Regions from separate parts of the Homo sapiens genome. Here regions 1, 2, 4, 5, 6 and 7 are each linked to region 3. Evidence: promoter capture Hi-C in 16 types of primary human blood cells and fetal thymus (Javierre and others, 2016). All regions are on one chromosome and are shown on one strand. Each heading gives the region's core, a stretch centred on a gene start or on the middle of the fragment in contact. The rest is flanking DNA. Distances are from core to core; before and after follow the strand shown. Region 1 has its middle 50 kb from the start of PIP5K1B. Region 2 overlaps PGM5 (phosphoglucomutase 5). Region 3 holds the start of PRKACG (protein kinase cAMP-activated catalytic subunit gamma). Region 4 overlaps TMEM252-DT (TMEM252 divergent transcript). Region 5 holds the start of LOC105376071 (a long non-coding RNA gene). Region 6 overlaps TMEM252-DT (TMEM252 divergent transcript). Region 7 overlaps TMEM252-DT (TMEM252 divergent transcript).

Evidence for each region. Contacts are between HindIII fragments. The CHiCAGO score rates a contact against its expected background, and 5 or more counts as called.
Region 1: a contact is called between a fragment that was not itself captured here and the fragment with the promoter of PRKACG in region 3, in 13 of 17 cell types (M1 macrophages, megakaryocytes, neutrophils and 10 more). The highest score is 12.1, in M1 macrophages.
Region 2: a fragment that was not itself captured here is called in contact with the fragment with the promoter of PRKACG in region 3 in 2 of 17 cell types (monocytes and M2 macrophages); the score reaches 5.1 in monocytes.
Region 4: a contact is called between a fragment that was not itself captured here and the fragment with the promoter of PRKACG in region 3, in 11 of 17 cell types (total B cells, monocytes, naive B cells and 8 more). The highest score is 10.3, in total B cells.
Region 5: a fragment that was not itself captured here is called in contact with the fragment with the promoter of PRKACG in region 3 in 11 of 17 cell types (M1 macrophages, M2 macrophages, M0 macrophages and 8 more); the score reaches 13.3 in M1 macrophages.
Region 6: a contact is called between a fragment that was not itself captured here and the fragment with the promoter of PRKACG in region 3, in 16 of 17 cell types (naive CD4 T cells, total B cells, erythroblasts and 13 more). The highest score is 20.4, in naive CD4 T cells.
Region 7: a fragment that was not itself captured here is called in contact with the fragment with the promoter of PRKACG in region 3 in 13 of 17 cell types (M0 macrophages, monocytes, M1 macrophages and 10 more); the score reaches 12.5 in M0 macrophages.

The regions. Positions count from the first base shown.
Region 1 is chr9:68,653,574-68,657,332 of GRCh38, forward strand. No RefSeq gene overlaps it. Among named protein-coding and RNA genes, the nearest start is that of PIP5K1B, 50 kb to the right of the region's middle. The HindIII fragment of the contact is 4,143 bases long and covers 1-3,426 here.
Region 2 is chr9:68,523,079-68,526,924 of GRCh38, forward strand. All of the region lies in intron 10 of PGM5 (phosphoglucomutase 5), which reads left to right. Among named protein-coding and RNA genes, the nearest start is that of TMEM252, 16 kb to the right of the region's middle. The HindIII fragment of the contact is 9,592 bases long and covers 1-3,846 here.
Region 3 is chr9:69,011,850-69,016,199 of GRCh38, forward strand. It overlaps PRKACG (protein kinase cAMP-activated catalytic subunit gamma), which reads right to left and starts at 2,264. Exons shown (of 1, transcript NM_002732.4): 1 at 655-2,264. The coding sequence starts at 2,243. The coding sequence ends at 1,188. The HindIII fragment of the contact is 8,295 bases long and covers 1-4,350 here.
Region 4 is chr9:68,547,047-68,550,802 of GRCh38, forward strand. All of the region lies in intron 2 of TMEM252-DT (TMEM252 divergent transcript), which reads left to right. Among named protein-coding and RNA genes, the nearest start is that of LINC01506, 2.3 kb to the left of the region's middle. The HindIII fragment of the contact is 9,054 bases long and covers 1-3,756 here.
Region 5 is chr9:68,633,099-68,637,121 of GRCh38, forward strand. TMEM252-DT (TMEM252 divergent transcript) reads left to right here. Exons shown (of 5, transcript NR_187592.1): 4 at 1-162. It overlaps LOC105376071 (a long non-coding RNA gene), which reads right to left and starts at 1,905. Exons shown (of 3, transcript XR_929902.3): 1 at 1,671-1,905; 2 at 1,363-1,584. The HindIII fragment of the contact is 2,502 bases long and covers 527-3,028 here.
Region 6 is chr9:68,563,925-68,568,116 of GRCh38, forward strand. All of the region lies in intron 2 of TMEM252-DT (TMEM252 divergent transcript), which reads left to right. Among named protein-coding and RNA genes, the nearest start is that of LINC01506, 19 kb to the left of the region's middle. The HindIII fragment of the contact is 4,987 bases long and covers 1-4,192 here.
Region 7 is chr9:68,611,887-68,616,028 of GRCh38, forward strand. All of the region lies in intron 2 of TMEM252-DT (TMEM252 divergent transcript), which reads left to right. It also overlaps the pseudogene LOC347097. Among named protein-coding and RNA genes, the nearest start is that of LINC01506, 67 kb to the left of the region's middle. The HindIII fragment of the contact is 2,145 bases long and covers 1,434-3,578 here.

The DNA of each region.
Region 1 (3,759 bases), core at 105-2,604, 360 kb before region 3:
TAAGACTTAAAGGAAAAAATGAAAATATGTGAAAAGAACAACTATGAAAACTGAACAGGCTGAATTGGAAATTAACTAAAAGGACTTCTAAAAATTTAAATGTAATCTATAAAATTAAAAACCTGGGAAAATGGTAAGTACAAGTAAAATGCAACTGAAAAAAACATGAACCAACTGGAATATAGATCCTAGACACTACTTAGAATGTAGCACTGAGAAATAAAGAGATTAAAAATATTAAAATGAGGATAAAAAACAGTGTTTAAAGAATGAAAAGGTCTAACATACATTTAATAGGACTTTCAGAAGGACAGAATAGAGAGTAGGAAGATGCAGTATTCAAAGCAGGACACTTAGACACATCATAGTATAAGTGCAGAATACCAAAGGCAAAGATAAAGAAACCAGAGAAACTCTGTCACTGAAAATACTGAGAAACAATAACTACACTTTATCTCAATAAGTGCCACTTTTTTAAATGCAAAATATCACTTTGCACTGAAATAAGATATACAAGGCTAATTCCAGATCTGTTCAGAAAATATCTAAAATGAATCTGGGATATTTTGTCATATGAGCAGCAAGGAACTATCAAAGACGATGAAGTCATATCAAAATGACGTGGAAGCCATCCTGAAAAACTCCCGTTGGCCAAAGATGGGACAATTTGAACACAAATAAGAATAATAACTGACATGGGTTAAAATAGATCAAATGCGTAAAACCCATGACTTCATACTGATACTGCACAGAGCCTGTGTGATCACAGTGGAGGATGCCAGGGTACGATGATAGACATATAGAGCAACTATATTGTTTTGAGATCTGGTATAAAAAAAGAAAAATAATGCATAATTTATCCTAACATTACTGTATGAACTGCAACTCAGAGTAAACAAAAATATTTGCGAAATAACTTATACAAGTGTTTAGCTAATAGCTGAAGAAGGAATGATAGAATGTCATCATTTTACATGCCTTAGGAAATAATGGACCTAGACAATGGTCATCCATAGCTGCTAATGTGACAAAAAGAGAGACAATCAGACATTATATACTTCCTTATATCAACACACATCACCAGCTGTGGAGGAGTCTTGCAAAACACAAAACAAAATGAAATATAAACTGAAGGCTCTAGATTAACTATTGGCTTACAGGAAATAAAAAGGCAAGGGAAAAGAGTTAATATCACAGGGATACAACCAGCAAAATCCAGATTGTGGGGAATTTAAAAGAATGAATCAGATTCTTCAACAAAAAGTTTTAAGGAAAAAAATGTGGAAGAGGAATTTATAGATCGAAAGAAATTTAGAAGAACTATGAACTAATTGCAATGAATAGATTGTATTTGGTTCCTAATTCAAAGTGTTAAAAACATACAATACAATCAGATGTAAACACAAGATATTTAACAATATTAAGGTATTATTATTAACTGCAGATACGTCCTTTTTTTGGAGGGCAGCAATCTAGTCTGCAGACACTGTATCCCCTCTGGCACTTCCTGCTGCAGCCAATAAAGGCCGTTCCTACCATAGTTTATTTTATTTTTTTAAAATGTTATTTATTTATTTAAAGACAGAGTCTTGCTCTCTCTCCCAGGATGGAGTACAGTGGCGCAATCTTGGCTCACTGCAATCTCCATCTCCCAGATTCAAGCGATTCTCCTGCCTCAACCTCTTGAGTAGCTGGGACTCCTGGGTAATTTTTGTATTTTTAGTAGAGACAGGGTTTCACCATGTTGGCCAGGCTGGTCTCAAATTCCTGACCTCAGGTGATCCACCCACCCTAGCCTCCCAAAGTACTAAGATTACCGTTGTGAGCCACCATGCCCAGCCCCACAGTTTAAAAAAAAAAAAAATAGGTATATTGATGTATGCTGGTTATGTTGAAATGCACATGTGTACACACAAGGAATTCTTAAAATATCTCGAGCATAATTTGTTGTCTTGTTTAAGACATTAGAATGATTAAAAATAATGTAAAAATATTACATTAGGAATATCATGATAGGAAAATACCATTTAAAGAATATTAAAGTAATCATATACATAGGGCACAAGTTGTAAGACTTAAAGGGGGAAATTCAGACTTAGAAAAATAGTGATATTGCTTCTTTAAGTTATTCTAGGTTGATATGTTAACAGCCAGATATTTCAGTTGTTTTCTTCATCTTTCCTTAAATGCTCATGTCTTGTAAAGAACTTTATCCTTTTAGAATTGTAGGGGTTTTTATGGTCATCAGAAAGCACATCCTCATAATATGCTATTGTTAAGAAATAAAATTTTAAAAAATCTTTCAAACACAGATCTGTAATTAATTCAGGAGTCAAAGAAGAAATTATAATGGAAGTTATAATTATTTAAAATTAAATAATTAATAAAATTTAAAACTCATTGGAACAGTAATATAAGTAAAAGCAGCTGAAAGGAACATCAAGTAATCTAAAGAAAGAAAAAAAAGGGACTACATAATACAAAACAGCACAAATTAGTAAAATTAAAATCAGAAATTTGTTGGAGTGTAAGAGAGCCAAATAAATAACTTCCTTGTTGTCTCTTAAATTCTGAATCCACTGTAACATCAACAGAGTCGCAGATCTGAAGACCAAATTATCACTTTTATTAATGATAAATTATGTTAGAGGGTGTGACTAAGAGTAAGAGCCAAACAGATCTACTAATACTAATACCCTGCCCACCCTCTAGTTTGTAGAACTTGGAACTACATACCAGAGAGATGCAGACACACACACCCAGGATTGTTATCTTGCACTGGACTGGAGGGTGAAAAGAAATCTAATTCTCCATGCTTAGAATTTTTGATGGTTTACATCAACCCAACCAAGAAGTGAGGACCAATGGCTGTCACCTGACAACAGACACTCAAGTTAACCTTCATGCAGAGAGTAAGAAATGGGGAAAGAAATCTGGATTATTTAGGGAAATCAATTCACACATAAATCATAGGAGTGGAAAATAAGTTTTTCTTCCTGTTAAACACAATAGAGAAAGTCAACCAAATCAAATATTTTGTTTAGTAAAACGGATACATTTGGGGGAAAATTTTTAAGAATTAAAAAGACAGTACAAATAGATGAAACAGGGAAGATAAACTAAGATAAAGCAGATATCAAAATAATAAAATCATATGGACTTTATACAAATAAATTTGAGCATTTATACAAAGTGAACAATTTCCAAGGAAAATACAATTTTGCATAACGGAGTCAGGAAGAAATGGAAAACCAAAGGAATCTATAATCATTGAAGACACTGAATCTATAATTATATAAAACTCTATTCTACCACCCCAAAAAGGAAGAAGAAAGAGGAGAAAATGGAGGGGAAAGTGAAGAACTACCACCAGGTCGAAATTATTTTAATAGCGAGTTCTACCAAATATTGGAACAGGCAAATCCAAGCTTACATAAATGCTTCCAGATAATGCAGGCCACCCAAATTGTTCTCAAAGATGATTTTACTTTCTTCTCTGAGGAAGAACAATGCTGTTTCCTCTCAATTTCTTGAATTTGCTTTGGTAACTTTTACTTTCTTTTCATACAACATTCAAAGGGAGGAGAACGGGCTGGAAAAATATTATTCCTTATCTAATTGAAGAATGGTCAATATGAAATCAGAGATACACACACACAGCCTCCATTTTAAAGGGAGTGTCAATATTGATCTTTAAAAAATTAAAAGGGAAACACTACACATCTGCTAGAATGGCCAAATTCCAGAACACTGACAACA
Region 2 (3,846 bases), core at 1,129-3,628, 490 kb before region 3:
TGCTAGGCTAGGTGAAGTTTTTGCCCCAGGCTCTATTGTAGGTTGCTAGCCAGCCTCTCTATTGGCTGCCTGTAGGTCAGACAGCCACTTCTGGTCCAATCAGCTGCAGCCAGGGAGTGGGATCATGTGATGCAAACAATGCAGCCTGGGTTTGGGCTGGAGCAAAGCATTTGACAGGCACAATAATTAGAGTACCTTAGAGCAGTGGTCCTCAGAGTGTGGCTCCTGGACCAACAGCATCCTGGGAAGCTGTTGGAAATGTCAGTTCTTGGGCCCCAACCCAGACCCCTTGAATCAGACACTCAGGATGAGGGGTGCTGCAGTCTCCACTTTAACAGACCCACCAGGGGATACTGGTGCATGTTCAAGTTCAAGAACCACTCCCTTAGACTATGCAAAAGCATATTGACTAAAAATGAATGTTTGCATGAAATCTGGAGAGAAAGCCTGGCATTCAGGTTTAGCAGGTTTTAAACAAAGTGGGAGTGTTGTTAGTTGATCCTAGGGATCAGGAGAAAGTAGCATTTGTTATAAATCTCTATTTTATGGATGCCAGAATGTCAGTGTTTTCTGTTGTTGGATGACCTACCTGCATTTCTGGTTTGTATTGCCTGCCCCGAAAGATGAACTATGGTAATTATCGTCATCCACACCTATTCACTCTCCACCCATGGCTCCAATCCTTCCCCGACTGTACAAATGCACATTCCTCATAGAGACCAGCCCAGCACTAGGTTCCCTCCACAGATTCTGACAAATCTTGCTTGATAAGTGATTATGATTCTGGTTAGGGTATTGTTTTCCTCCGAAAAATCAGTTAACTATTTACTTTGAGTCTTGTGACATTCAGATCATTTACATCCTTCCTGTCTATTGCTTGTCCCAGAGTAAGAAGTTCAGTTTGTTAGGGTTGTTTTTTTTTTAATGGATCTAATTTACATGAAAGTGGATTATAACAATGACATAAAGCAAAAGAGAAGATGGGAGAGAAAGTAAAAAGAGAAACTCTGTCTTTCCAGGGAGTATGGACAAGTTAAAACCTAATCTAGGATTTATGTGGGCTAGGATTAATGTGAGGTTAACTGGGTGCAAAATTTAAGTGGGTGTGGATGCCAAAATACTCAGTAATCAAGATAAATATCGTAGTGCAATTTTTAAAAAATCAAAATCAATGTCCAAAAAATTCATGATAAACATAGTGTCAAAACTTTAAATAGAGAGAGGATCCAATACCCCCTGTAGCCTGTCTACATTAATGGACAGCAAACATCCAGAAAACCCTGCAAGGTGGCAGAAGATGCCATCTTGAAAGGATGCAAGGCCTGCTTGGTTTGGAGCAAGATAAGCGTTCACTGCTTCCTACTGTTGACTGTAGAAGAAATATGTTAGGCACTCTAAAAAACACTGGAATTAGAAAAAACAATGCTATACTCTAACATAATTGATTAAAGTCTCCATTAATTTATTTCCTTTATTCACAAAGGGTTATTTTGGAGTTTCCAGGACATTCACATAACCCACATAACTGAGAACACCTCTTCTCCCACTGTCTGCCTGGTTTTGGTCAGGGAGGAAGACTGGTCAGTCCTACCCAACTCCTCATCTGATGTGGGACTCATCTGGTCCAATAGGGTTGCAATCCCATGATTTCCCTGCTCCTCCCCATTCAGTGCATTTTGTCTTTCTCTCTTTATCCTTGTCACTCTCAGATCTTATATGCAGAACTGTATGATGGAAAATGCAGTAGAGGAGCCCACTGTATGTTCTTATCCCAGCTCAGCCACCAAACAGATGTGTGACCGTGGGTCAATCCTGTGTCGCACTGGGCTTTAGTGTCTTCATCTGTGCCATGAAGAAATCAAATGACACCAATCCACATTCCTCTCTGCTTTTGAAATTCTGTGCTTCCAGCTCCATGTTAGAAAACTCACATCCACAGTTCATAACCCCTCTTTTTGCTCCTCATTCCAACTGCCTCTCCAATTGCCCCAGGAAAATTAACTCCCACCCACCATGAGGCATGGTCGATGACATGAGAGAAGAGTTTGGGGTTTACGTGTATCAGAGGAGTGATTTCTAAAGAAAAACATGAGTAAAAACCCGGCACTGTTGACCCTCCCACATGCACACAATGTCCTCCAGGAATGCCCACAGGAGTCTCTATTTGCCTTATCATCTTTTCATCAAATATATCATTCATTTACTCCACAAAGATGTATTGAGTATCTCCTAAGCAGTAGATACTTTCCTTAGCCCTGAATAAGACAAAGTTTCTGCCCTCATCATGTGGCCACTCATTCTAGCACATATATACTGTCATGCACGGCGTAGTGATATCTCTGTCAACAACAGACCACATATTCCATGGTGGCCCCATAGGATTGGAATGGAGCATGTATAGAAACCTGCTACATGGCACTTGATATTGATGTTGCGAATCAACTAGGGGAAATGATTGATATTTAGTGATGGTGCTGGGACATTTGGTTTCCCATATGAAAAACAATATATAAATAAAAAGATATATACCATCTAGGTTTGTGTAAGTACACTCTATAATGTTTGCACAAGGATGAAATTGCCTAACGATGCATTTCTCAGAATGTATCCCCATCATTAAGTGATACATGACTGTTTAATTTATACACTCAGGGAAGAAAAAATATATTAGTTTATTAGCCTTAAAAATGGGAGCTTGCCGGGCGTGGTGGCTCACGCCTATTATCCCAGCACTTTGGGAGGCCGAGGCGGGCAAATCACGAGGTCAGGAGATCAAGACCGTCCTGGCTAACACTGTGAAACCTCATCTCTACTAAAAATACAAAAAATTATCCGAGCATGGTGGCAGGCACCTGTAGTCCCAGCTACTCAGGAGGCTGAGACAGGAGAATGGCGTGAACCCGGGAGGCGGAGCTTGCAGTGAGCCAAGATCGCGCCACTGCACTCCAGCCTGGGCGACAGAGTGAGACTCCTTCTCAAAAAAAAAAAAGAAAGAAAGAAAAAAAAGGAGCTTAACTTGAAGTTTCCTTTCCAGAAAGCTGGCAAAAAATTCAATCTTGGGTATTTTTAGGGACTTCTTCCCAGGCCTTCCTGGGGTCATACAAAATCTAAAGAAGTTCTGTGGTTCCTGGAAAATGGCTGAAAAGACTGAACATCAGTGAGGTGGTCTTCTTCCCAAACACTCATATTTCCCGGAAGGCAGATGACTCCATGGCATCTGTGCCGGATTAGCCCAGGCTCTTGGCTCAGGATGGGAGTCCTCATATTTAGGAGTTTCCTCATGTGGCATTTTCTTCCCTTCAGCTTGCATAAGCACCACGGAAGCCCTCTTCTCTGACATGAACAGAAGAAGGGACAAGTGCTTGGTTGATGAATCCAGAAACAGAGTTAAGTAGGTCCACTATACACATAGATATCCTATTACATTTGTATCATAAAACATATAAATGTACATGCATTTGCCAGTATTTTGATTTTGGCCCAAGACCTGTTCTTTAATATGAGCATACTGTTTGCCATTGTGATCCTCTTTCTTCAAAAGATTCCCACTCATAATTCATCATCTATAATATCTGTCTTTGATTCCTTTATATTACAGCGGGAACTTAAGGACAATTGTGAAGCAACCTGAAAAAATAATTCTTCTATAATTTTAAAATTTCTCCCTAATATTTTGTAGTATCTCACCCACATCTAATTTGACAGGATTAGCTAATCACCATTATCTGTTCTTTCCAAAACACTCAACTTAATTTTCATAGAAAAAAAGTCTTCTTATTTGCATTCACGTTTCATTGGTTTACATATAATTAAATTGCATAGTCTCAATAATTAGTACAATAGGCA
Region 3 (4,350 bases), core at 1,014-3,513:
TGTCAAAAAAAAAAAAAAATTGAAAACAGCACGGGGTGGCAGGGGAGAAGAGGTGAAGGATGGCTGACAGCTAAGCTGGAGAGGGGCACCCAGGATGGGAGAAGGCAGAAGCTGCTGGGTGAATAAAACAGGCAGCCCCTCCCCAGCAACCCTAGCCTTGAACCCTGGGCGATGAGGTGGGGGTGGAGGGGCTGGGCCTCTTCCATGTCCTTTTGCAGGACTGCCTTCCCATAAGGAGAGGCTGGGCATCACAATCTGGCTGAGAATAAAATTAAGGAGTTTCGGGGAAATGCTGCTGTGAAGAAAGACTTGGGCTTGGAACTCCCACTCTGTCTTTTTGGGGGACAACTCCTCTTTGGCAGGGAGTAGGGCAGCTGCTTTTCTGGCTCCCAAAGCCCAAGGGTGAAGAAAAGTCTGCTGGGGAAGAAGAGAGTGGAGCTTCCTAAAAGAACTGAGACCTTTGCAAGAGTGATAGAGGATGCCCCTGGGGAGGGGGGAGGGGGAAATCAGCAGTTCATGGGGGAAGTTCAAACCCCAGAGCCTCCTTCCAAAGTCAGTCGGCTTCCTGGATTTGTTAAAATGGAATGGGGAGACACGGTAAGGTGGGAAGGGTGGGAGGGGTGGAAGTAGAGGAAGGAGGAAAGGGGACACTGGTGGAACTTAAATAAGATTTTAATTGTTTTTTGTTTTAATTTTTTATTCTAGCAAACAGCCCACTGAACATGGCACTAAACCTCTCTCCTTCCCAGGCAGGATTACGCCAAAGGGTAGGTGTGCTTTTCATTCATCCTCTCTTAGTAAGTGGTGCCTGTTCAGGGCTGGAGTTAAGTTTGAGCCCCTCTTTCCACACCGTGTCCCTTGATACAACAGCAAGACCTGGCCTGAATAGAGCTGAGAAACTCGTTTAAAACAGGCAGAAGGGGGCTGGGGCAAGGGGGACCCTGTGGGAGGAGAAAGAGAGAAGCACAGAGGGACCAGGAAGGCATGGGGGGGGGTGAGGGAGCAGCTGGTGTTTCTGTTCCTCCAAATATCTGGGCTTCCTGCTCCCCCAACCCTGGAGGGTGGGGTGAGGATGAAATTAGATACAAGGAACTCTGGGGCCCTCTGGCTGTTCAATCCAACCCTCCCATCCCCCAAACCACCAAAAACAAAAAGGAAAGAAAACCCACAGGGGCACAAGCACACCCCTAAAACTCAGAAAACTCCTTGGCACACTTCTCATTGATGGAGATCCGGAGCTCTTCCTCCTCGTAGTCGTCAAAGTTACTGGCATCCCCAGGGCCTGTGTACTTCGGGATGAAGGGAGCTTCCACCTTCTTCTCATAGATGGCGATCCAGCTGGTTGTGGCGAACCACTTGTGGTTCTTGATGTCGCCAACCCCGTTCCTGAGGTTTCCGAAGCGCTTGGTGAGGTCCACCTGCAGCAGGCTCCGCAGCAGATGCTTGAGGTCAGAGCTGAGTTTGGAGGGAAACCGCACCCTCCCAGAGACGATCTTCTCGTAGATCTGGATGGGCTGGTCGGCGTAGAAGGGTGGGAAGCCCACGGCCATCTCATAGATGAGCACCCCTAGGGCCCACCAGTCCACGGCCTTGTTGTAGCCTTTGCTCAGGATGATCTCGGGGGCCAGGTACTCTGGGGTCCCGCACAAGGTCCAAGTGCGGCCCTTCACGCGCTTGGCGAAACCGAAGTCCGTCACCTGCAGGTAGCCCTGCTGGTCGATGAGGAGATTCTCGGGCTTCAGGTCGCGGTGGATGAGGTCGAGCGAGTGTAGGTACTGGACGGCCAGGACGACCTGGGCGGCATAGAAACAGGCATGGGGCTCGCTAAACCTTCCGACGCGCTGTAGGCGGGAGAACATCTCCCCACCCGGCACGTACTCCATCACCAGGTACAGGTAGGAGTTGTCCTTAAAGGAGAACTGGAGCTTGACGAGGAACGGAAAGTCGATCGCCTGCAGGATGCGCTTCTCGTTCAGTATGTGCTCGACCTGCTTCATCTTCACCACCTTCTGCTTGTTGAGGATCTTCATGGCGTAGTGGCCGCCGGTCTCCTGGTGCCTCACCAGCATCACCCGCCCGAAGGAGCCCATGCCCAGCGTCCTGAGCCGTTCGAACTGATCCGAGCTGGCGGTGTTTTGAGCGGGGTTTCCCCATCTGTAGAGGAAATCTCCTCTGGCTTTGGCTAGGAACTCGTTCACGCTCTCCTCCTGCTCGGTGTCCTTCTTGGCGGGGGCGTTGCCCATGGCGGTGGCGGCGGCAGGGGCGGGGGTCTCGCGGCGGCGGCGGCGGCGGCGGCAGCGGCGGAGATGGCGCCCCCTGGGGCTGGCTGCGCTGGCTGCGGCGCTGCGACCCCCGCCCGGCCTCCGCTTATATTCCCAGCTACATGGGAGGCTGAGATGGGAGGATTTCTTGAGCCTGGGAGGTCAAGGCTTCAGTGAGCCAAGATCACGCCGCTGCACTCAACAATATGGATAAATCCAAAAGGCATTATGCAAGTGAGAGAAGCCAACTCTAAAGGAGACTTACTGTATGAATCCATTTCTATGACATTCCAGAAAAGGCAAAACTATAGTGTGAGAGAACAGATCAGTGATTGCCAGGGCTTGGGGTTAGGGGACGGTTGGACTATGAAGGGACAGCCTGAGGGAATGTGGGAAGTGGTGGGACATGTTTGTATCCTGATTGTGCTGGTGGTTACAATGTATTGGGTGGTGGTCTACATTTGTTTTAAAACTCATAGAACTGGCCGGGCGCAGTGGCTAAAGCCTGTAATCCCAACACTTTGGGAGGCCGAGGCGGGCGGATCACAAGGTCAGGAGTTCGAAACCAGCCTGACCACCATAGTGAAACCCCGTCTCTACTAAAAATACAAAAAAATTAGCCAGGCGTGGTGGCGCATGCCTGTAATCCCAGCTACTCGGGAGGCTGAGGCAGGAGAATTGCTTGAACCTGGGAGGCAGAGGTTGCAGTGAGCAGAGATCGTGCCACTGCACACCAGCCTGGGCAATAAGAGTGAAACTCCATCTCAAAAACAAACAAACAAACAAACAAACACCTCAAAGAACTGTATACTTCCCCCCAAAATTCAGTTTTACTGCATGTAATGTTTTATTTTAACACATACATATGATTTCCTTTCTTCTGTTTGCTTTGGGTTTAATTGCTCTTATTTCCTAAGGTGGGAACTAAGGTCACTGATTTGAAATCTTTCTTCTATTACAATCACTTAGTGCTATAAATTTCCTCCTAAGTATTATTTTTTGCAGCATCCCACAAATTTTGGTATGTTGTATTTTCCTTTTCATCCAGCTCAAAATATTTTCTAAGCTCCCTTTTCATCTTCTTTGACAGATAAGCTATTTAAAAGTATATTATTTCGTTTCCAAATACTTGGGGATTTTTCAAGAATTTTCCTATTGATTTCTGATTTAATTCCATTGTTAGAAAACATACTCTGTGTGACCTAAAATGTTTTACACTTCTTGGGGCTCATTTTATGGCCCAGAATATGATCTATCTTGGTAGATGGCCCATATGCACTTGAGAAGAATGTATATTCTGGTGTATTCTGCTGTTTGAGGATACAGTGTTCTACAAATGTCACTTAGGTCAAGTTGGCTAGTAGTAGTGTTCAGGTCTTCTATATTCTTATTGACTTTCTGTTTACTTATTCTATCAATTATTAAAAACATGCCACAGGAGTTTATGAGAAGTCAAAGTACATAGATGATGGGCCTTCCATCACTCCCCCAGGCCACCATGTCAGCCGCCCCACACACCCTCCAGAAGACTGCCAGCACTCAGCCATCACAGGGTGGGTTCTGAGCTGCTCTCCCCAGTCAATTCTGTACAAAGATTCTGTCCTACATCATAAACACTGAGCTACAGGAATACCCATTTATCCTCCTATTTTCTCTCCATCTTGCCCTTTAAGTTTGACAGCTAATTCTGCCTACCCACCCTGGCTACACCGCCTGTAGCTAGTGCAAGTAAACAACACACTTTCACCTAGCCCTGCAGGCTGAAACCAAGCAAATTGGAGAGGAATCCCTGATTACTTGACTCCAAGTAGAAGGTTTCTATTGTGACTGTGAATTCTTGCCGCTCAGTTCAGCAGATGTTGGTCAAGCAGGTGTCTATTGTGTGCAAGGCCTGGTTCCGAGTTTACGGTTTAATCTGGGGCCAGTACTTGGGTACTGACTGTATATTCAGAGACGGTCAGGTTAGAGAGGAAGAAGAGGAAAGGAGAAAAATCTACTGTTGATCATCTGAACTTCCACAAAAGGGAAACCCACATTCCCTCAAGAACATAGCAGGGGGGTCAATTGCCCCTTGTGCTTTGGGTCAAGG
Region 4 (3,756 bases), core at 382-2,881, 470 kb before region 3:
ACTCAGGAGAAGATTTATATGAAGGCTTTTTTTTGGTTGGCAAAGAACAGCTTCTCACAAAGTGCATGGCACAGTAAGGTAAGCTGATGTGAGAGCAGCACGTGAGGCCCCACTCACCCTGGGTGGAACCTAGTGGGTCTCTGGGCCAGGGGACTCTGTGGAGACCAGGACTAGGTGGAACTATGGGGCAGTTGCCTAAAGTGCAAAATTTGTTGGGGGTTATAGGGGGTGGGGAGGGTGGAACTTAGTAATCAAGAAAAATCATATTTTCCAGCAATGTTTTAAAAAATCTAATTGGCAGAATATGGCTCATGGGGCAGCAGCCTGTTTCTGTAAATAAAGTTGTGGTGAGGAAATTTGGTCCTGTCTATTGGCCAAACAGAAAGATAAATTTTGTTCTAGAGGGAGGTCAATTTAATCCACAAATAAGCCAGAACAAATTTAATTTCTTTGGGGATCCTTGGAAAACTGAAAAGACCACACTTCCATGGCCACTTTGGATCAGAGCAGAAGCCTCAAGCCAGGGCAGAATCTGACTGCCTGCATTGACACCACCTGGCATGATGGGCAGGGACTTGTAAATAGGAAGCAGTTTCTGTGCCCACTTTATGAAATTCTCTGTAATATTCTGTTTCCCTTTTCTCCACTTCCTAGTTTTAATACTCTTGAATAACTTAAGTGATAGCAAAATATGTGTTGCTCAAAGATTTAGTAGAACTCCCTCATAAAACCACTGGGTCCAAGACCTTTTTTTCTCTTACTTTTTTTTCCTTGTAATTTTTTATTGACTGCTAGGTACTGTGTGTAGGATAGTAGAGACTGAGATAAACAGTAGATATGCCATGCCTGAACATGGGCACAACTCTGCCATTGCTCACCTCTCGGTGTAGGGAGTTGAGCAAATCTAGTCAAGATTTGGGCTGAGTTTGGGTTTTGTTGTTATTATGGTTCCCTTCAGTGCACTACTGGCTTCAAATTCCTCTGGTATTAACTGGTGCTTGGGGTGAGGGATGGCTTGCTGAAGGGTTTTTTTCAATGTTCCTCCTCTATCCTCAATTTTAGACCTTCACTGAGTACTCGCACCTGAGTGGGGTGGGTCTTCATACTCTTGCCTATTTTTTCAGCAGCAGACTATGCTTATTACCTGATGCTTGCTAGCTGGGTGGTAGGGGGAGGGGGTTTCTCTGTTGTCTTGATCCACCTTAGTCTTATGCAGGCCTTAAGATCCTGGTGTTGGAGACTGGGGCTTTCTCAGTGAACCTACTCTTTCTCCAGCATTAGTTTCCTCTAACAATCTGACCTCAGGATAGTTCCCTGATCCTCCCTTACAGAGGGCTTTTTCTTTTCACTTTTTCCAGCCACATGGGTTTCGCCTGTGCCCTGGGGGAAGGAGGGTTTGCCACCTCCCGACTCTAGCAGCTCAACAGAGTCCAGCTGGGGCTTGACAATTTCCTGCAGCAGCTGGGTGGAGATCCACTGGAGAAGAGCCCAGAAGTGGGTGCAAACCCCCATCGTGTCTACAGCTCCTAGTGTTTCTGTACTCCCACATTAGCCCACATTTGGCATCTAACAATTAGTTAAAAACTTCAGCTGAATTATTCTTACGATCTTGTATGACATTTGTGTCTCTTATACCTGGGCCCTGTCATAGGAGAGCCAGGGCTTGTGTCCCGGCTTCCATTGGAGGCTCCTGTCTTTCCTTAGATTGAAGCTATTCACTTGCCCTGTAACCTCAGCTCCCTGATGGAGTCAAGAAATATTATGATTTTGTAGGTTGTCAGGCATTTTCTGGTTGTTAGATGAGAGCAATACTCTTTCAGGCTTTCTAACTCCTGGGCAGAAGGGGGGATATCCTTGGCATCATTTCTTTATGGTAAACTTCAATTAGTTTTTCAAATTCTCCTAAAGGTTTTAAGGTTATCTCTTCTCCTGAAGTCATTTTTTATAATTTACAATTTCCTAAAAAACATTCCACTTACATGCCTACAAATTCTCTTCACACACACACACACACATAACGTTCACTTATAATATAATATATGGTTATAATATTATATGCAGTATTCAATTATAATTTTAAAGTCTTATCTGATTTTCTAGGTATGTCACCTTTCCAATTCTTAACATTGCTATTTGTGTCTTTATTCCTTTTTGTTTTTTTGATGAGACTAACCATAGCTATTTCATTAGATTTTTCAAAACTACTTGTTCATGTATTGATCTAAGAGTCAGCATTTGGTTTTATAATCATTCAGGCTTTTTTTAAAGAAAGATTTTATTTTGTTTATAAATTTATATTTCATAAGTTTCTGAAGTTATCATCAATAATTCCTCTAGTCTACTTTGAATTTTTTGTCATTTTGGGATAGTGTCTTCAGTAAATCAGGCCTTTTTAAACGATTCTATTAGTTTTATGATTCACCAGTTTTTGCTTTAATCTTTAACAATTTCTTTAGTCTACTTTTAATGACTGTTTTGTCATCCTTTTTGCAGTATGCTTAATTTATCTCCAATCTTGTTTTCAAATAAATATAATTAGTGCCACCCATTTGTGTCACTTTGACCCAAATCACACACATTTTTATATGCCATGCTCTCATTGTCAGTCATTTCCAAATAATAAGTAATTTCACATAATATAAAAATGAGCAAAATATATAAGCATATAAGTGTTTTTAAAAGAAATAGGAAATAGCCCTTAAACAATTAAAATATGTTCAACCCCACTTATAATAAGGAAAGTACTAAAATACAATTTCTTGCCTATCAGATCAGCAAAAATCTCAGTTTGACAACACACTCTGTTGGCAAGGCTGCAGGGCAAAGATACTCATATATTGCAGGTGGGAATACAACAGCTAGCAAACTTACATTTGCATTTTTCTTTCTGACCCAGAAATCACACTTCTGGAAATATATTCCAAAGATACATTGGCAAAAATACAAAATTTTAAATGTGCAGATTTACTTATTGCAGCAGCATTGTTTGTAATTATATAAGACTGGAAACACTCAAATGGCCATGAATAAGGGCCCAGTTGAATAAACTAAGGTACATTCACGTGTCAGAATGCTATTCAGTTATAAAAAGGAATGAGTAACATCTCTATATTACTAGGGTATACTGATAAGATAACAAATCAAATAACAAAGTTTATAGTATAAAAAAGAGGGGATACAAATATGTATGAATATATGTCAATATTTTCAAAAAGAAACAATGAGATTATCAAAGAAAATTAATTTTTATAATGGTTACCTTTAGGAGGGAGGGAACAGGGTAGGAAGGATACAGTTGGAAGACAGATTTATCTGAATGTGTCTTTAAAATAGTTACAAAATTGGAACTATAAGCATATTTTACATAATTAAAAACCAAATTAAATCAAAGCAAAGTAATCCTTAAAATTTTTCTTTAAAAAAGGTAACAAATGAACCTAACTTCTTATCAGTTTGATTGCTTGCCATAAAAAAAGTATTCTAAGTAAATTTAAATTGCGGTATTTTCACTCAGTGGGAAAGACTCTAGTGTAAAACAATACAAAAACAAAATCTACAAATAAATCCTAATATGCATTCAGTAGTCTTATGGATGGTAAGAATATGGGGTATTGTAATCCTAGCATTGTGGGAGGCCAAAGCAGGCAGATCACTTGAGTCCAAGAGATCGAGACCAGCCTGGGCAACATGGCAAAACCCCATCTCTACAAAAAAATACAAAAATCAGCCAGGCATGGTGGCGTGCCTTAGTCCCAG
Region 5 (4,023 bases), core at 528-3,027, 380 kb before region 3:
TGGGACTACAGGGGACGCTGGTAACCGCACCTCATTCAGCAACTTGAGAAACATCAGCAATAATACTACAAGCAATCGCTTAGGTACTTGACTGTGAGCAGGAATATGAGACAAGTGGAACACACTGGCTCTCATTTTTTAAAGATGATTTCACCTTAAGAGGTAAATACTTACGGAAAACAATAAAGCACCTACAAGAAGAATTATGATACAGGTCAGCACTGTCCAACAGAACTTTCTGTCATCATGCAAATGTATTGTATCTGTGCTGTCCAAGATGTGACATATCCAATATATTACCCACCTATGGCTATGGAGCACATGAAATGTAGCTAGTATGATGGAGGAACTCATTTTTAAATTTTAATTATCTTTATTAGCTTAGTTAACTTTAATTAACTGAAATTAAAATTAAAATAGCCAAATGTGGCCAGTGGCTACCATATGGGATGGCACAGCTATAGATGGCCATAGAAGTATGGTGAAGTGGTCAGGGAAGTCCTCATCAAGAAAGTACATTTTGAGAAGCTTTTGAAGTGGGGTACAGAGGGAAGAAAATGCAACTGGATTGAGAAAGATGGGAGGAAATGAACAAAACACAAGGTTTGTTCTAGTAGAAGGCCTGGGGTTACAGATTCAAATGCCTACAGAAAGAATCATAAGGTGGGCCAGTAGGCCGGGCACGGTGGCTCATGCCTGTAATCCCAGCACTTTGGGAGGCCAAGGCGGCCGGATCACTTGAGATCAGGAGTTCAAGACCAGCCTGGCCAAAAGGATGAAGCTCCATCTCTACTAAAAATACAAATACTAGCCAGGTGTGGTGGCGCCTATAATCCCAGTACTCAGGAGGCTGAGGTGGGAGGATCACTTGAACCTAGGAGCCAGAAGTTGCAGTGAGCCAAGATCATGGCTTTGCACTCCAGCCTGGGTGACAGAGAGGATTGGTGGGGGTTATGGGGACCATGGAGATTAGAGACCCTACCCCCATGTAAAGTGTCAATCACTAGTCAGCTCCAGCCAGTTATTGCCATACAGAAATGTAGGCTCAATGTTGACTATCTTCTTATTTTTTGGAGGAAGTCAGAAACTCCAATTTTATGTTAAGTCACCTAATTTTAAGTCTTGGCCACAGTGTGTGCTAAACATTCTTAGCAGATGCTGTTGGTGCTCCACTCATATCCACTCAGCACTCCCCTCTGCAGGTGAGGCTGCCTAGTGTGACTGCCTTCAACTCTGCCTGAAGACACTGTGCACACACTTGACCTGCATTCAGCACATGTAGGAATGCTAAAACATTAATGCCCTTGGAAGCAGCTCTCAAACAATGAGAGGAAAGTATATAAATATGATAGATAGTCTTACCTTTCAGTTAGGATAGCTCTGAGATATGTCCTGTATTGCCTCCCAGAGTTTCCTTGTGTGACTGAGCTCCAGCTGCCACAGTACAAACTGGTAGATAATGTGCCATTCATTGGAATCCATCCCTTTTCCTTCTCACTCTCCCACTTGCCTGTATACTGATGTTTCCTGGGATCACCTCCCAATAAACTACTTGGACACCAATCCATATCTCAGAACCTGATCCTGGGAGGAACCCAAACAAAGACACTGTTGCAGCATACAAACTCAAATTCCAGTGGCGAACACAATGATGTTTCAATCTCACTCACATCACAGTCCAATGAGGGTCATTGTGGAGACTGTTCCACCATCCAGGGAGCCAGGCTCCTTTCATCATGTGGCTCTGCATCTTCTATGACACCTTCCTTCTCTGCATTCAGTTGCAGATGGGGACAGATAGAGAACGTGGAGGGCTGGGAGGAGGATTTTTACCATCAAGGCCTGGAAACAGTGACCAGCACTTCTGTTCATATCCATTGGCAGAACTCGTCATATGGTTCCTCCTACTTGCTGGGGACGCAGGGAAACGTAGTGCAGCTGTGCACCAACTGTAGAAGGAAATAGGTTTGCTGAACACATAGCAGTTTCAGCTGCTGCAACTTATTTATTTATTGAGACAGAGTCTCACTGTGTCACCCAGGCTGGAGTGCAGTGGCGTGATCTCAGTTCACTGCAACCTCTGCCTCCGGGGTTCAAATGATTCTCCTGTCTCAGCCTCCTGAGTAGCTGGGATTACAGGCATGTGCCACCACACCCGGCTAATTTTTGTATTTTTTTTAGTAGAGATGGGGTTTTCACCATGTTGGCCAGGCTGGTCTTGAACTCCTGGCCTCAAGTGATCTGCCTGCCTTGGCCTACCAAAGTGCTGGGATTACAGGCACGAGCCACTGCGCCTGGCCTGCAACTTATTTAGATTTTGTAAAAATACTGTCCGGGCCAAAGAAGCTATGCCTGTGGACCAAAGTCAGCTTGTGGAACACCAGTTTGGAAACTGTGGCCCAGATATTATTCCCTAGAGTTAAGGGAGAAAAATTTTGCTAGCAAGCCACCCAACAAGTTCTTAACTTGCACAGAAATAAGTGTGCCACATTTTATTCAATGTCCAAACACTGTACTGAGTGCTCCACGCACAGTGCTGCAGTGAGCAGCCTCTGGAGATGTGTGTGAAACATGCAGATATTGCATGACTATATGAAATTAATCTATATGAAATTTGAAATGACTTTATGAAAATTGAATCAATTCTCCACTGACTGAGTTTATAATTTCACAGGGAAAATGATCATTTCATTTCTGATAGTTCTTACATGAACAGTGGGTCCCTAATCAGATAGCTGTGACTTCCTTCATCCTCTGTCAAGTGATTGTCTCTCAGTAGGTCATGTCAATGTAGCCCCACTTCCACCTCATCTTCAGCTCTTCAGCCTCTCCCCCGATTCCCTACGCTCCAGCCCCACTGCTTGTTTCTCAAACTTGCCAAACTTTTTACACCTCCAGAATTTTGCAAATGCTGTTCCTTATTCCAGAAATGCATTCCTGCTCTCCTCTCTTCTCTTTGCTTCATTCTTTACCCAACTGGGTCCCTGGTATCTGCCAAGTCTTGGCATAAATATTCTTCCCTCATAGAAGCTTTGACTGACCACCCAAAACAAAGGGGCTTTTCTCCACCTACCATTATTCCCGCTCCTTCTATCTATCATGATTCAGAACCATATCTGCATGTTTCACACACATCTCCAGAGGCTGCTCACTGCAGCACTGTGCGTGGAGCACTCAGTACAGTGTTTGGACATTGTCAGAGCTCAAAGATATCTGTTGAATACATAAATGAATACCAAAAAAACTCCACTGCTTTAAAGAAGTTTGTGTGGATACCTTTTATAATTAAAATAACATCTCCCCATCTGTCTTGAAAGTTTAGTTAAACTTGATTAGGATTTAATGAAGAGAAATATTTATATATTGAATGCTACCTGAGGCAAAGAAATAAAATAAAATTCCTCTCTTTATCTCAGAAATCCCTGAACTTAGTCTCTTCTAAAACTAACCTAGATAAAACTCAGTGTGATCATTTATGTCAACAGGGGTGGAGAGACGAAAGCTCTTTGAAAAAGTGAAACTGATATTAAAATGCAAAATTTTAATTCCTAAAAGCATCATTGACCTAAATAATCTAACAAGTTGCTCAGGGAGAAAAAAATAGGAATCAGCTTTGATTTTTCCCCACCCCTTCCAATCTCTCTGCCATCCTTATGAGCTGTACTTCCAAACACAGCTCAGCTTCACCTCTTGCCTCTTCCCCTTTTGCCCAAGATTGTGTCAATCCAAGCTGCTGAATGCGTAATGAAGCTGTCTGTCTAAGAAGCACAGTTACTTGTTTAGTTAGAAATGTAATTTTTGTTTTGGGGTTTTATTTGGGAGGGATTTTTTGCCAAGTGGTAGAATTTGAAAGTGTTTTCCCTATAGGAGGCAGATTCGGAAGTCTGGCCTACGACTCTTTTGGAAGCTGAAACTAATTAAAATATTCATTTTTCGCCTCTGTAGCTAAGACCCGGCAGGGGAGATAGCATTTGTTTTATGAAGGTGTAACTATATCCACTAACCTCTTGTGTGCCACATTCG
Region 6 (4,192 bases), core at 499-2,998, 450 kb before region 3:
AAAAAAAAAAAAAAAAAAAACCCAAAAAAATGGTCTGGGAGTTGGTCCCAGCCATCTGTATGTTAGCAAGCCTTCCAGGGCATTCTGTAATGTTGTAGAACCACTAGTTTAGGGGAAAGACATAGCATCTGTCTAAAAGTAATTTTCATAAGGTGCCCGTAGACACAAGTAAATGTAGAATGATCATTAGCTCCTTTTTTCATCTTCCCTTTGCATCCTGAGGAACATAAACACAATAGCCTTCTAGGTCAAAGAAGGACAATTTTGCCCTACTGACTCCAAGTTCTCCTTTTTTTTTTGAAACAGAGTCTCACTCTGTCACCCAGGCTGGAGTGCAGTGGCGCAATCTTGGCTCACTGCAACTGCCGCCTCCTGGGTTCAAGCAATTCTCATGCCTCAGCCTCCTGAGTAGCTGGGATTACAGGCATGTGCCACCATGCCTGGCTAATGTTTTTTGTATTTTTAGTAGAGACGGGGTTTCACCATGTTGGCCAGGCTGGTCTTGAACTCTTGGCCTCCGGTAATCCACCTGCCTCGGCCTCCCAAAGTGCTGGGATTACAGGTGTGAGCCACTGTGACCGGCTGACTCCAAGTTCTTTAGGGCAACCAGGGCTTTTCTGGTGGCCAAGGCTTGACTCACAGAGAGCAAAGAATAAGAAACATTCTGATTCTTATTTTAGCAACTCAAGACATAGCAACCCAAGATGTGGAATCTGATGCAGATGGGTGCCCTCTGAAAAGATGAGTCATTCTATCATGGTCCATGACACATAACCTGGACAATTCAGAATGGGAAAGGGGTGCAGCTGGAACACAAGCGAGGAGAGAGAGAGGAGAGAGGGTAGTGGTAAGGGGGTCACTTGCTTCGGTGAGGCTATTTGTCAGGAAGCCAGGCTGGGTGCCTAATCAGTGTGGCCGTATTCTCTCTCTTCATGGCTCTGCAACCTGTTCATTGGATGAACCTGGCTTTGTTCCTTCCCACCTCTGGGTATTAATATATTAAGAAAACAAATTACAGCCCAATCCCACAAAGGCTAGGGAACCTGCCTTTCTTCTTCTTCATTGTGTCCCCAGAGCCTAGCAGATTGCCTGCTACGTAGTTGATAAATATTTGAAAAAAATCAGTGAGGCTGGAGGTAGAGTTTGTTCTCAAGGTGAGAGGTAGGGCAGGATTTCCTCCCTTAAGTAACCAGGCAGGAAAAGAACAGAGTGTCACTTGTTATAGGGTACCATGGTCAAACCAAGGAAATCAGGATTAATTTGAAAGTCCAAAAGGAAGTAGCACAGATGAAAACTGGATATAGTCAGAGGTCAGGACTTGGGCAGACCTGAACTTAAATGGGATCAAAGAAAGGAAATGAGGTAAGGATAGCCCTGCTGTCCACAAATTGCCCCATGCATAAGTAGATTAGGTTGGTGTAAAGCTATGTTAACTAATATTCAACAAATATTTATTCAGTCCCTATTATGTGACAGGTACTACTCTAAGAGGCACTCGCAATTCTGCAGTAAACGAAACAAACAAAAATCTCTACAGCCACGAAGTAGAGAGCACTGACCCCAAAAGGAATAATAATAATAGCCATTTGATGATTTAATAATCGTAATAAATAATTGCTTACCAGGTGCCAGGCATTGTCATCGTTATCATACATAGACCACCCAATCAGTTGATGTGGAAGTAAGTTCTATGCTTATGCTAACTTTCACTTTTCCAAAGGACTTTCTTCTTCAGACCATCACCTCTGGGTGCAGAAACGACAGGAGGAAGTAAAGTCTGAACTTACGACCTGGGATATTACATTTCAGTTTGGTTCTGGCCAGGCACCATGGCTCACACCTGTAATCCCAGCACTTTGGGAGGCTGAGGCAGGCAGATGACAAGGTCAGGAGTTCGAGACCAGGAGTTCTGGCCAATATGGTAAAACCCCATCTCTACTAAAAATACAATAATTAGCCGGGCGTGGTAGCAGGCACCTGTAGTCCCAGCTACTTGAGAGGCCGAGACAGGCGAATCGCTTGAACCCGGGGGGCGGAGCTTGCAGTGAGCCGAGATCACGCCACTGCACTCTAGCCTGGGCAACAGAGCGAGACTCCGTCTCAAAAAAAAAAAAAAATTGGTTCTAACAAGTAGGCAAGTCGCCTCATGACTTATATTACTGGTTACTGAAAGATTGAGTAACAAGATTGCAGTTAATGAAATAATATGAGGCTTTTGATGGGTGTTTATATGAATAGTAGGTAAAGAAAATGGTTTTAAGAGAATGAGCATCAAAAGTCTTTCTCTAAAATCCTTTGTGGCATGTTGTCAGAGGAACATTAATAATGAACTATTCTAGACATCCTCTCGACAATGCTTTCACAAAAACATAATATCACTCAACTGACATGGGTTTAGTTAAAAATTCCAGCCAGATGATGATTATTAAAAAAGAAAATCCTTACCAGTTAGACATGCATGTAGACCCTTGAGTGTGTTTTTAAAAAGATAGATACATGGAAACATTAGATATATAAAGATGTATATTCCAGCCAGAAGTGCCTGTAAGACAACAGTACTCCTAAACATAAAGTAAGTTATTTAGAAATTTTCAGATTTGACAAGGGGTTTTATTGTTTGCCTCATATACTTTATACACATAGAACTTGCTGTGTTAAAAAGCCCTAATTCACTAACTTCATTTGTGTATTATTCAATGCCTTTCCATGTATTAATATTTCTGGGGCTGTCCCTGGTGAATGATTGTGTATGGAAGAGAATAAATTATTTGGTTAAGACCCCAGCCTCGGGAGGCAAGTTGCCAATGCTTAATTACTGGCTCCGTCACTTACTGGCTGTCTGATATTGAGCAGGTTATTTAACTTCTCCATGCCTCATTTTCCCCATCTGTAAAAGGGGGTACTAATAATGTGTCATAGGGTGGTTAACAGGTTTGAATATGCTTATAAAATGCCTGGAAAAGTCTCTGGTACATCGTAAGTGCTGTGTGAGGTGCTGATGTTTTTCTGCTTCTGCAGGTGTGCCCTTGCTGTCCTTTGCCTCCTCAGCTGGGCTAACACTGCTGCTCTTCCCTTCTGAAGCTCACCATCTTCCATCCTCAGATCCCCTCTTTCACAGTGCTGCTGACATCTCTTCCACCCAACCTCACCTCCCATAATTCCCCACACCTCAGAAGAGCCAAGCTCTGCCATTGCACGTGGAGGTAGAAACTAGAGAGATAGCACCAAAAAATAACTTTCCTCCTTGACATAGGCCCACATCCATTTTAGGGTGGGTTCCTGAGCTGGCTCATGACATGGTCCTGGCATCTTCCCTGTAACCAGAGTCAGTTCTGCCCAACCACCCACTCCAGGCCTCCCCACGCCTCAGACCCTAACTCCAGGAAAAAGGACCATGTTGTCCCCTCACCCTAGGCTAAGGCCCACCACAGTTCATTTCTTGCCTTTGGATTGACCTCTTCCTAGGATGGCTGGGAATAAGAGCTTCCCTTCCCTTAAGGACAAGCCCCACTCCACCCACAGGGCTGTGGGACAGATCTGAGGCTCAACAAGATGATCCCATTAGAGTCCAATTTAGGGATTGCTGGGAAGTGCAGTCATCACTGCCAGTGGGGTCCCACCAAACACACTGTGCTCAATTCAGATCCTACTCAGCCAGCTTCTCTTTGTCAAGGTTTTCACAAATCCTGGGGTCGAGTCTCACCCAGGGTCACCTTGAGCCAGTGGAGTCTGGGATTCTGAGAGGCCCAGGTGGTGATCTAGGGTTCAGTTTCCTGCTCTGTCAAGGACTATTTTAGCTATGTTACACTTTAAGAAGAATTTGTGGGTCCCTCTGGGAACTTAACTCTATTTATAACATTGTTTCTATGGGAAAGAGTGTTCCAAGTGACAATCAATTTAAAACGGAATGCTTAGTACACAGCCTTTTCATCGCTGGGGGACTGCTGGTAATTTTTTCTTCACATGTAGAGATTATATTGAAGTTTCAAAACAAATCTAGTATAAACAAGTAGAGCAAAGAAAAAGCAGGTGTTGCTTCTTGTATTTTTTAGGAGACATTTTAAAAGTTGAAGTTTTTTAAGAAAAAAAGTTTATTTCACAGGGTAACATTTATTGAGCATTTACTGTTTACCAGCTACTAAATTAAAGACAGAGTCTGTGTAATCTCATTTAATCCTCACAGCAAAGCTCT
Region 7 (4,142 bases), core at 1,256-3,755, 400 kb before region 3:
TTTTTCCAGAGGGCCAAAGATGTCTTTATGCAGTTCTTCTAACAGATAGCTGTATTTTATTGTGGTTGTACTCTTCTTGTTCCCAATCACAGTGTTAGCACTGAAGCTATAAGTTGCCTGGTCATTTTGTGATCATAAAAGTCCATGAAAAAAAAATTTATTACCCCAGTTTATCAGATTTTTTCCCTCAGATTCATTTTAACAAATTAAGGGAAGATATTTTGACACAAGAAAGCAGGAACATGGAGAAATTGGAGCAGGAAAGGAATTTATCAAGGCAATAGGAATAGCTTGGTGGTCCTATGGTGTTTCCAGAAGTATTTGGCATTGCAATTGAGCAGTCCAAGTAGTACTACTTTTAGAAGAAACAAAAAGTCTGTTTTTTAAAGTAATGTTTTTTCTTATGAGAAAAAGGTTTAGATAGAATTGGGTTTTATTCATATTAATTTAATGCTATTAGCAATTTCCATATACTATATTATGGAAAAGACTGAAGAACACAATTCTGAGAAATATTTTAAAAATTTTAATGGTATAGTCATGTTGAAAGATAAATGTTGGCTGGGTGCAGTGGCTCACGCCTGTAATCTCAGCACTTTGGGAGGCTGAGGCGGAGGGATCACGAGGTCAAGAGATGGAGACCATCCTGGCCAACATGGTGAAACTCTGTCTCTACTAAAAATACAAAAATTAGCTGGGCATGGTGACGCGTGCTTGTAATCCCAGCTACTCGGGAGGCTGAGGCAGAAGACTCGCTTGAACCAGGGAGGCAGAGGTTGCAGTGAGCCAAGATCGCACCACTGCACTCCAGCCTAGCAACAGAGTGAGACCCTGTCTCAAAAAAAAAAAAAGCTAAATGTTGTAAGTCCTGGTATGATGGTGTCAGCTTCCTTGGGGAAGTACTTCTTTAGTTATGTAGCTAACGAGATCTTTTACTACAGATCTGGATGGCTATTCAGATAACATAGCAAAAATGATAGCAGAAGATCATCAAAAACTTAAAATATATTTTATTAGAAAACATGTATCTATGAATGAGTATTTCCTTGATGCTAGTCTCTGCACACATATAATTTGTTACTTGTATGCATTCATTGGTTGTTCAGTATGTAAGACAATTACAAATAACTTAATACTGTATTTTCCTTGTATGGAAAACTGTTGTAGACCCAATGACTAAAACTTTCAAAATAAAATATTTTCTATTATGAAAAAAAAAGAATATCTAATGACAAGAGAAATTCTGTTAGATAAGTTGCTTTTGGCTATAAGTAACAGAAAAATTTAAACAGCATAAACAATATAGCTATTTATTTTACCATCTGTCAAGATGTCCAGTTTGGGAATGGTTGCAACATCGGTTAATTCAGAAGTTTAACAAAGGAATAGCAGTCCTGGTTCTGATCTTGTTCATCAGCTGATCTTGTTCATCAAGCTTGCTCCCCCATCCCCCATGTTTGCAAATTGGCTGCCATTGTTTCAGATACATTCAGACAATACCCAGACTTGAAAACGGAAGTTTCTTCCTACAAGTCATTTTTTTTTAAAGAGCAAAGAAACTTTTCCCAGACATTCCCTAAGGACTTCCCTGATGTCTCTTTGGCCAAAATAATGTCACATGCTTACTCCCAAGTCCATCACTGACAAGGTGAAAGGAATGATTAAGAATGACCTAGACCAATTAAGTTTCATTCCCTCAGGCTGGAGAAGGTTCCAGCTTTCCCTACAGCACATGGCTGTCCTATGTCTCAACAAAATCAGGGTTGGCTCACAAACCAGAATGGAGAGAATTGGCTGTTAACTAGACTACCGTCAGGTAACACAACAGTAAATGCAACATATTTCCATTTGTATAAAGAAAAGTGAATATAGATAGGTCTATAAAGAATAAAAGCCTATGCATATTTTAAAATATTATTCATGTTGTTGGGATTATAGAAAATATTTATTTTTCTTGTTTCTGCTTTTCTTTTTTTCCTAAATGTTCTGCAATGAATATGTAATATATTTGAAGTCTATTTGTGCCCTCCCCCCACCAAAAATATATCCAAGAAAGGTTACTTTAAAATAAAACATTTATAGTCCTTGCCAGGTCTTTTTTTTTTTTTCTTTTAAAGTAAGTATTAAGAGCAGTTATGTAAAATCAAACTCAGAGGTTTCATTCAGTTGAGGCTAGAATGTGTCTGATGCAGCCTCCAAAGACATGGAGCCTCCTGCACTCGCATGAGTCCCAGGACCCTGAGGCCCCACGGAGATGTCAGCAATTTTATCCCAGGGGCTACTCTTGCTGCTTAGAAGACGATGTCCTGTGACTTATCTTCCCAAACTGGAAGGTTGGACAGTACAAACCAGATTCTAAACCAGTTCTCAGTGTCAAGGCCAAGAAGATATCAGACCTGTCTAGGGAACAGGGTTACACTGAGACTTTCGGTTCCACCACAAGCAGGAAGACAGAGCTGGAGGAATGAAAACAGAAGGCACAGCAAAAAAGACAATTAAAGAGCAGCGAAGTCACTCTATGCCTCTAGACACATGTCCAATAACTTGGCATAAAAGCACATGCATTTTGTGACCAAGTTGGACTGGAATTCTGTCCTGGTGTACTCTGCATGTCACCTGTAGACACTTCTCAGCCTGTACCCGGGATTCAAAAAGTTGAGGGCGATCAAGAATGAGGAAAGATATTTCTGCAGCCAAAGCAGGGACAGTCCACATTCACTCAGCAAATCTCTGACCCTCTGCATGAAACCCCAGTGGCCACCTCCAGCCCAGTCCTGGCGACACAGAGCAGGCAGTGCCCTCAAGGAGATGAGAGACGCAACCCAAGTGGAAAAGACTCGAGCTTTAGAGCAACACAGACCTCAGCTCCAATCGGACGTCACCAATTGCTAGTTGTGCAAACTTCGGCAAGCCACTTCACCACCCTGTGCCTCAGTTTCTTCACGTGTAAAATGAGAATAAGGCTTTTTAAGTATTCATCGAGTTCGCTTATGCAAAGTGTGACGAACCTCAGCTCAGCATAATTGAGTGAAGAAGCTGGAAGGGCAGTAATGGCCTCCAAATGCACCTCCAACAGCCACCCAGGAAATCCCGCCCTTGCTTTCGCCTCAGACTCTGGGCACAAAAATTAATCAAGAGCTCTGAGGCCGGAAATCTGGAGCTGTCAGATTCACTCTTCTGGATTGAACTTTTAATGGAGGTGGATCACTGGGGCTTGCTCTTGCCAGATAAATAAATGGTACTTTAAAAATTATACCCAGCTAACAAAACCTGCTCACAGCCACACCACTGGTGCTGGGGAAGCGAGCTCTGACTCCGAAGAACAAATCACGCCTGAGGGGCCTGAGTGGAGAAAGTAAGGTTAAATCACTGGAACCACGTATCCATCTGCAACGGACTGTGTGGGTGGTGTGCATGAAAAGAACAGAGAAGAAGGTAGGAGAAGCTGCAGGAGGCAGAAACTGGAGGGGAGGCTCTGTCTTTGGAGTAGCTGCCACTTTGATATCTCTCTTTTTTTGGAAATGCTCTCTGCTGCTACTTGTTTGGGAGTTTAGCACAGCTAGAGAAATGGCTCATGAAGCTTGAGGTGAGGTGGAGATGAATTCCCTCTAATGAAAATCCCTGAGCCATCAAAGTGCTTCATTAGTTCCACACAAGACCTCTAAGGTGCGCAATGGACATACGGGGCTCTTCAGTGAAAAGATTATTCCCCGTGTGCTCATCTGGACACTAAATTCTGGTTTAATCACTATTAAAACTGTCCTGAGAGAAAAAATGGGGCATGTGAAAATGAGAACACTCAAGGTCATATTTATCCACATTGTTTAGAGTGAAAAGTGTAGCTCATACAAAGCTTGCCTGGCTACTGAAACCACTTCATTGAAAAAAAAAAGGCCAATAAATATGTCCAAGCCTTTGTACTTCCATTTTTGTAATCTAAAATGTTTTGGTTTGTTTTAGTATTTTATCTAAGAAAAAGAATGTGTTTGGGGCCAGGAGCAGTGCCTCATGCCTGCAATTCCAGCACTTTGGGAGGCCGAGGCGGGCAGATCGCCTGAGGTCAGGAGTTCTAGACCAGCCTGGCCAGCATGGTGAAACCCTGTCTCTACTAAAAATACAAAAATTAGCCAGGCATGGTGGCA